Regions from separate parts of the Homo sapiens genome. Here region 1 is linked to region 2. The links are contacts of gene promoters, found by promoter capture Hi-C in human tissues and cell types (Jung and others, 2019). All regions are on one chromosome and are shown on one strand. Each heading gives the region's core, a stretch centred on a gene start or on the middle of the fragment in contact. The rest is flanking DNA. Distances are from core to core; before and after follow the strand shown.

What was found. Contacts are between HindIII fragments. The study calls those that stand out against the background at their distance.
Region 1: a contact is called between a fragment that was not itself captured here and the fragment with the promoter of RTP4 in region 2, in 1 of the 25 tissues and cell types used here (aorta).

What each region holds. Positions count from the first base shown.
Region 1 is chr3:187,209,078-187,212,966 of GRCh38, forward strand. No RefSeq gene overlaps it. Among named protein-coding and RNA genes, the nearest start is that of RTP1, 14 kb to the left of the region's middle. The HindIII fragment of the contact is 6,887 bases long and covers 1-3,889 here.
Region 2 is chr3:187,366,428-187,370,608 of GRCh38, forward strand. RTP4 (receptor transporter protein 4) reads left to right here and starts at 1,958. Exons shown (of 2, transcript NM_022147.3): 1 at 1,958-2,169. The coding sequence starts at 2,015. RefSeq lists an enhancer at 1,819-2,168. The HindIII fragment of the contact is 7,845 bases long and covers 1-4,181 here.

The DNA of each region.
Region 1 (3,889 bases), core at 830-3,329, 160 kb before region 2:
CGCAGGGCCATAATGATACCTCACACATGCTGTTCCATCTGTTCCTCTTTTCTCTTTGCCAGGCTAATTCCAACTCATTCCGTTTCCAGCCTACACTCTTTCCTCTTCATTTTATCCATTCAAGAATAGAATAGATGCTCCTGCTAAGAACAAGTATATTTCCCTCTGCTTTCCATTTCATAGGGTCTCCTTCCAACTGCAAGACTTTATGATTCTCAAAGTCTACTTAGGGAAGCAAGTATTTACAGAGTCATGGGATGTTAGAGTTGGAAGAACCATTAGAGGCTCAATCACTTCATTTCAAAAATGACAAAATGTGGTGAGAGTGTGGGAGTAACTAACCCCGGGGCCTACTGTCAGGTGATGGTAGAGCAAAGCATCCAAGTCTCACCTAGTTTTAGTCCAGAACTGTTTCCCAAGACTCTTCCTGATCTGCTAGGAAGATGTTTCAATCTAAGGAGGCCTCACCTGCCTCTCTTACTGCCTCTTATACTTGCTGCAGATGGGGAATTCTGGGTTTGCTCATGGGCTTTGCTTCTGTCTTGGCAAAGATTTCTCTGTGATAGTTCTTTCTTTGCACACATTGCCACATGCCACATAATGAACTTGTTAGATGTATCTTATGTGTTATAAATAAACTCCTCAGGGAAATTCCTGGATCCTGGGCCTCTCCCACTGGAGCTTTTGTTTGCTTGTCTTGATGTTCAAGCCAGGAAGAGAACTACAAGCACTGAATTATAGTTCCAGAGGCTGAAATTCTTGGTGTAGGGTTGAGAAAAATTGTTATCTCTATTGCTTTCCTCATGCCCATCTTGACAGAGGACCAGCTCAATGGGAGGATTCCTTCTGGGGTTCAGGAGCCCTGAGAACTGAGAGGACTGCCAAGGAAGGAATATGTCCGACATAGTAAGTCCATAGACTATCAGAGCTATAAGACAAATTAGAGATGCTTTGAGCTAGGGCCCTTATTTTGCAGATGAGAAATTGAAGCCCAGAGAAATTAGGAAACTTGACTAGCATTGTATATCATGGGGTAAGAGAAGATCATGAAATTTGGGGTCAGAAAACACTTGAGTGCTGGTTCTGCTACTTACCAGCTCTGTAACCTCAAGCAAGCCTCATTTTCCTCCTCATCAAAATGGAAATAATCCTATCTGCCTTGGAGGGCTATTGCCAGGAATAAAGAATACTCTGTCTACGATAATGCCTGCTATAGGGCACATGCTCACTGAATGCTCATGCTCTTCTTTCATCCTCTTTCCCTTCTAATTTGCAGCTTCCTCTTTGAGTCCTGAAAGGCTCTTCCTTCTCTATGATTTCAGTTAAGCTTGGTTGGTAAATACTTAAAAAAAAAAAAAAAAAGGCAAGGGTTAATTTTGCAGCTTTGAAATGGTTTATTTATTAACTGTAGAGTTATTTATTTTCTTCCCTCATATTTATTTCAAAGCAATGATTTCATTTTTCCAGAAGCACGATGGTCACTCTTCATTCTTCAAAGATAGCTGTTTAAAAACATCTCTTTAAACAGAAAACACCAGTAATTTTCTGGGCTCCCTTCCCATTGGCTGGAATACTCCAGAGGAATTTAGTTCTTTTCCAAGTCCCATTCTGGTTCTCTGTGGGACTCCTAGCTAAGGAATTTCCTTTGGAGTCATTTTTGGCATTGCTTGGGTACTGCCACATGCACCAGGGAAATGAAATCCGCCTGTTATATGACTATGCTGTTACAGAGTCCTGTAGAGGTGGTTGCATTAGTGGTTGTGGTATAGAAGAGCTCATTGGCCTTGGAGTCAGAAAACCTTGGTTTCAGACCTGGTTTAACCATTATCTAGGCTGCTGGCCTTGGGCGACGTAGTCTTTCCTCTCCCCTAGATATCAGTTTCCTTATTTGTAAAGCAATCAGATAAAGTGCCCGAAGGGTCTCTGCCAGCTTTGACCTTAATCACAAACTGCTACTTAGCCCTATTTTGGGGAAGGAGGGGAATTTGGAATGGTGTCCTAACCCTGACCCTTCCAACAGGTCATCTGATTGTTACCCCAGGATTTCAGTCTGCCTAGGTTGATTTGGTGTTTGACCCTCTTATCTGAAACCTTCATAACATCTTTCTTTCCCTTTCTTATCTGGAAACAAACATATGTCTTACTCTCTGACTTTTCTCTAAAGGAATTCAAGTTTTTAAAGGCAGTTACCTTGAGAGGTGTTGTTTTATACAAGAACTTGGGTGATAGTGATGAAATTTCCGTCTTTTTCTTATCCTTTCACTTCTTTTAAAACAAGCTCAATAATCCTACATCACCATCTTAATAGGGTCATAATGATATTTACAGAATGTCGTAAAATATTCCCTATTTTCAAGATTCATTCATTTAATGGATGTTTATTGAGTGCATATTATGTGTCAGATATTTTTCTAGGCACTTGGGGATATGGCAGAGAAGAGCTACTAAATTGCTGTTATTGTGGATAGAGGAGCTAGACAATACACAATGTAAGTTGAGATGTGTGGTATATTAGATAGGGTTACATACTAAGAAGAAGAACAAAGTAGGCAAGGGAGATAGGAAAGGTAGGGAATGAAGTTACAATCTAAATTGGGTAGTGAGGGAAGGCCTTACTAAGAGGATGACACTGGGGGAAAAAAAAGATGAAGGAAACAAATAAGAGGAATGGCAGGTGCCAAGGCCCTGAGGCAGGAGCATCCTGAAATGTTCATACATGAGGAGGCTAATGTGTGCAGTAGGACCAGAGTGGTAACGGGGATCAGGTCACTGTCAGAACACTGGTTTTTAATCTGAATTAGATAGGAAGCCACTGGAGAAGTTGAGTGGCAGGGTGATGTTACCCAATTTACTGTCACCCAGTTGATAACAGACCATAGAGATACAAGAATGAAAGAGGAAATATTAGCCAGGAGGCTCCTGCAGTACTCCTTGCAAGAGGCTGTAGTGACCCGTTCCAGGGTGGTAGCAGCTGTGGTTGAGTCTGGATGTACTTTAAAGGTGGAGCTGAGAGGATTTGCTGGTGACTCAGATGTGCAGTATGAGAGAGAGAGGAGTCAAAGACGCCCCAAGATTTTTGGCCTGTGCAACTGGAAGAATGGAGTGTCTACTTTCTGAGATGAGGAAGGCCGTGAGGAACAAATTTTGGGGCAATATGAGGACCTCAGTTTTGGACATGGGCATTCTGTTAGACATTAAACATGAGAAATGCGAAGGTGGCAGTTGAAATATCACGCCTGTGGTTTAGAGGAGGTGCCCAAGCTAGAGATGAAATTGGAGAGCCATCAGCATTTAGGTGGTTTTAAATGTCATAAGCCTAGATGAGATTATTTAGGGAGTGAGGGTAGAGAGGAAAGAAAAGAGGCCAAAGAGCTGAGCCCAGGGAATCCCCATGTAGAGAGGTTGGAAAAATAAGGAGAAACTAACAGGGAGACTGTGGGGACTGAGGCACAGAGAGCAGGATTCCCTGGGGCTTTCAGAGCTTTGGGAGCAGAGTGAGGACTGGAATCCAGGCCTTCACAACCAGGTTCAGAGCTCTGTCTACTGGCCCAAGGCTCCTTCTCTCTCATGGCACCAGCTACTTCTCGTATTGGAATCTTGCTGATGTCCCTTGCATGGGACACATTGTTTCATCGAATCTGAGCAGGAGGTGGATTTTTGTCTCTATTTTTTTTTCAGTGCACTTGAAGTACTTCATAACTTTAAAATGCACTCAAATGAAAAGACTTGGTGGGAGGCCCAGACTGCTATCATGGATTTGGGCGTCAGACATGCAAACTCAGACCAAAGGGAGATGTTGTCAGAGTTGTTAAAAGAAGGATTCTGTTGTCTTGGATCCCACTGGCAGGCCTGGGCCACACATGAGCATTTAACTGGCAGGGATTAAATA
Region 2 (4,181 bases), core at 708-3,207:
CCCTTCCACATAATTTACAGAGTGGAGGGCAGAGTTTGATAATCCCTTCATGCAGCTGACCTCCTGCCTCAGGACCCAGGAAATCTCCCTACGGTTCCTCTGACACTGGCTCCAGTGTGCCAGCCTGGAACCTGAAATGCCATTCTCAGCTTCTCTTCAGGGAGTGAGGTGGGCGGACACATGGCAGGTTTTGGAGTCACACAGACCCGGGTTCAAGTCTCACTTCCACTGCTCGTTAACTGAGGGGATTTGGACAAAGTACCCCAGCTTTCTGTGCAGTTAACCTGCAAAACTCCAAGAATAATCCTTCGCGGGACTGGTGAGGATACATGGGGTGTAGGAGATGAGCATTAAACACGTGCTCCCCTACGCTGCTCCTAACCTCCCTGTCTCCACCTGGGTGTGAGCATCTGTGGGGGCAGGAATTGTTTCTTAGCTACAGGATACTCTTTTCCCAGTGCCAAAAACAGTGCTTTTGTGTCCGGAATTGGTGGGTTCTTGGTCTCACTGACTTCAAAAATGAAGCCACCGACCCTCATGGTGAGTGTTACAGCTCATAAAGGCACAGTGCCCAGAGTTTGTTCCTTCTGATGTTCGGATGTGTTCTGAGTTTCTTCCTTCTGGTGGGTTTATTGTCTTGCTGGCTCAAGAGTGAAGCTGCAGACCTTCCGGGTGAGTGTTAACAGCTGATAAAGGCAGAGCAGACCCAAACACTGCGCAGCAGCAAGATTCATTGCAAAAACCAAAAGAACAAATCTTCCACCACGTGGAAGGGGACCCGAGCCGGTTGTCAGTGCTGGCTGGGGCAGCCTGCTTTTATTCTCTTATCTGGCCCCACCCACATCCTGCAGATTGGTCCATTTTACAGAGAGCCAATTGGTCTGTTTTACAGAGAGCTGATTGGTCCGTTTTGACAGGGTGCTGATTGGTGCATCCACAAACCCTGAGCTAGACACAGGGTGCTGATTGGTGCATTTACAAACCTTGAGCTAGATACAGAGTGCCCATTGGTGTATTCACAATCCCTTAGCTAGACATAAAGGTTCTCCAAGTCCCCACTAGACTCAGGAGCCCAGCTGGCTTCACCCAGTGGATCCCGCCCCGGGGGCAGCAGGTGGAGCTGCCTGCCAGTCCTGCGTGTGTGCCCGCACTTCTCTGCCCTTGGGCGGTCGATGGGACCAGGCACCATGGAGCAGGGGGTGGCACTCGTCGGGGAGGCTTGGGCCATGCAGGAGCCCAGGGTGGGGAGACTCAGGCATGGCGGGCTGCAGGTCCCGAGCCCTGCCCCACAGAGAGGCAGCTAAGGCCCAGCGAGAAATCGAGCTCAGTGCCGGTGGGCCGGCACTGCTGGGGGACCTGGCGCACCCTCCGCAGCTGCTGGCCCAGGTGCTAAGCACTTCACTGCCCAGGGCTGGGGGCCTGCCGGCCGCTCCGAGTGCAGGGCCCGCCAAGCCCACGCCCACCCAGAACTCTAGCTGGCCTGCAAGCCCTGCATGCAGCCCCGGTTCCTGCCCGTGCCTCTCCCTCCACATCTCCCAGCAGGCTGAGGGAGCCGGTTCTGGCTTTGGCCTACCCAGGAAGGGGCTCCCACAGTGCAGTGGCTGGCTGAAGGGCTCCTCCAGCGCGGCCAGAGTGGGCACCGAGGCCGAGGAGGCTCCGAGAGCGAGCGAGGGCTGCGAGGGCTACCAGCATGCTGTCACCTCTCACTTTGCCTATTATAAAAAATGAGAGAGAGAAAATAAAAGCGAATTTATATGTGACCCCAGAATCTAGAACAGAGCTCTTTATCTCTCTCTCAGCAAGGCCTATTAACTAACACAGTTTTGCTGCTGTCTGTTTTCAGAACAAAGACTTGTTCTGTGTACTCAGACAGTCTAAAATGAAGGTTGAAAAAAACAGCTCATGTCCATACACAGAAACAGAAACTGAACCGAACACCGAAACTGAAACTGTTTGTCTCTTCCTGAGAAACGAGCAAACCTGAAAGCTACTCTCTCAGCTTCAGAGGGAAAAAATGGTTGTAGATTTCTGGACTTGGGAGCAGACATTTCAAGAACTAATCCAAGAGGCAAAACCCCGGGCCACATGGACGCTGAAGTTGGATGGCAACCTTCAGCTAGACTGCCTGGCTCAAGGGTGGAAGCAATACCAACAGAGAGCATTTGGCTGGTGAGTGTGGGTTTCCCAGGCAATAGCTCTTCTGAGAAGAGAGGCTCAGGCTCAGCTTAGCATGATTTATTCCTCTGAGAGCTTGTTGAAGGAGTAAATGTCACCAGGGCCTCCATCCTATTGTGGTCATAGTACTCTTTAGGGTCGACATGATAAGACGACTCCAAACCTCCATTTTGTTTAACTGCTGGAAGTTTCTTCTTTTACTAGGTTTCCCTCCGTAAATATTTCTGGAAAACCCTGGAGAAGGCTCCCTATTCCATAAATTTTCCCTTCTAGTTTCTCACCACGTCATTTGTTCCAGACTACCTCTAGAGTCTTTTGCAGTCTCCCCAGCAGTCCTGACCAGCTTCCCCCAGCTGCACCAGCTCTCCAAGCCTTGGCACTGTTCAGTACAAGCCTGGGACGGAGCCTTTTTTTTTTTTTTAAATATCTTAAGAATTGGCTAAGATCAAGCAGTTACTCTGAACATTGCTTTACTGAAGGCCTGGGGATAATAGTATAGAATGATGTTGCAAAAACTAAATCTAAAACCCAGTTCATGGAGTCACCAAGTAATACTCCTCCCTTACTCACCACTTCCCTCTTTAACCCCCAGCAAGCCTCCAGGTTGCAGGAACCAGTTTCCTTGACCATGTTAGGAGGGTGAGAATTGCTGACCTGGATAATCAAATTTATTTTTAAATGACACACAGGACCTTCGGTATAGTTTTCATCTGACCTATTACTCAGCTTGCCTGCCTGCCCCATCCTGCCTCAGGTATGGCCTACTCCATTCCTTATGGACTATTAGCTATGCCATGCATCTTCAGACTTCCACACTCTTGTTCATGGAGTTCTGCTTGTTCAGCAGACCCTCCCCTCACCCCTCCCTGCTCATCCTTCAAGGCCCACTCTAGTGCCTCCTCCTCCTAAAAGCATTCTCTGGTTCTCCTAGGCAGAGTAAGTATTCCTTCGTATACATTCCCATAAGATAATGGGATAAGATAAAATATATATGTATATGTATACATAAATGATATATAATTATATATACATATGTACTATGTATTTCAGAATAATAAATTTATAAATAATATATGTATTATTATATATTGTATCAAATACAGTATATGCTTATTTTTAGCTGCAGAATCTGTTGTTTAAATAAAGCCTCCTAAACGTCTCCAGAACAGTTCTCAAGTCACTTGTCAGAGCCCGTATAGCAGTCATGTTGCTCTGCTTTCTAATCCAGGGAAATGTGTAAATATTTCTGTCCACACCAGCCAGAGCTTTTTGAGGGACTCATGATGTCTTACAACGTTTTGGCACTCCTCCAAACAGAAAGAAGGTGTTTCTCCTGTTGGGATGATTTGATTTGATTGTCATTTCGAGATCGGAAAAGCAACCTACCAGTGTACTTTTGGAAAATATCAATCAGCTTTTGAAAAGCATTTTGTAGTTTACAAAGTGTTTTCACATACATCGTCTCTTTTGATGCTGCCAATATAACCCTTGAATTTTTTTTTTATGGATTCAAACAATGAGGGTTATAGAAGGGAAGGGCTTTGCCCAAGGTCTTCCTGATGTAAACTGGATCTTCAACCCAGGTATGAGGGATGCAGTCTGTTTCTCCAGGTGTGAGAGATTAGCTACACTACTCACCAGAGGCAACGTGTTACAGCAGGTAAATGAGTTGAATTTCAGATGGCCTGAGATTAGCAGCATGCCTCTAACATTTACCCTGTGTGTCCTTAAGCAGGTTGCGTATCCTTTTCATGATTCAGTTTCCTTATCTGGATATTGGGTTTAATAGTGCTTACTTCACAGATGAAATGGGATAAAATTATAAAGACCAATTATATTGTATGCATCAAAATAGATACTTTACCAAAGCTTTCTATGACCAAAATTAGGAATAAGTTTCTCTGGAAGATGGCAGACATGATTTTCCCTCAGAGGCATCTGGAGATGTTTTACTAGCAAAGAGGTAGACTTGGGTGTAACATATGGGTGGATACTCAGTAGGTCAC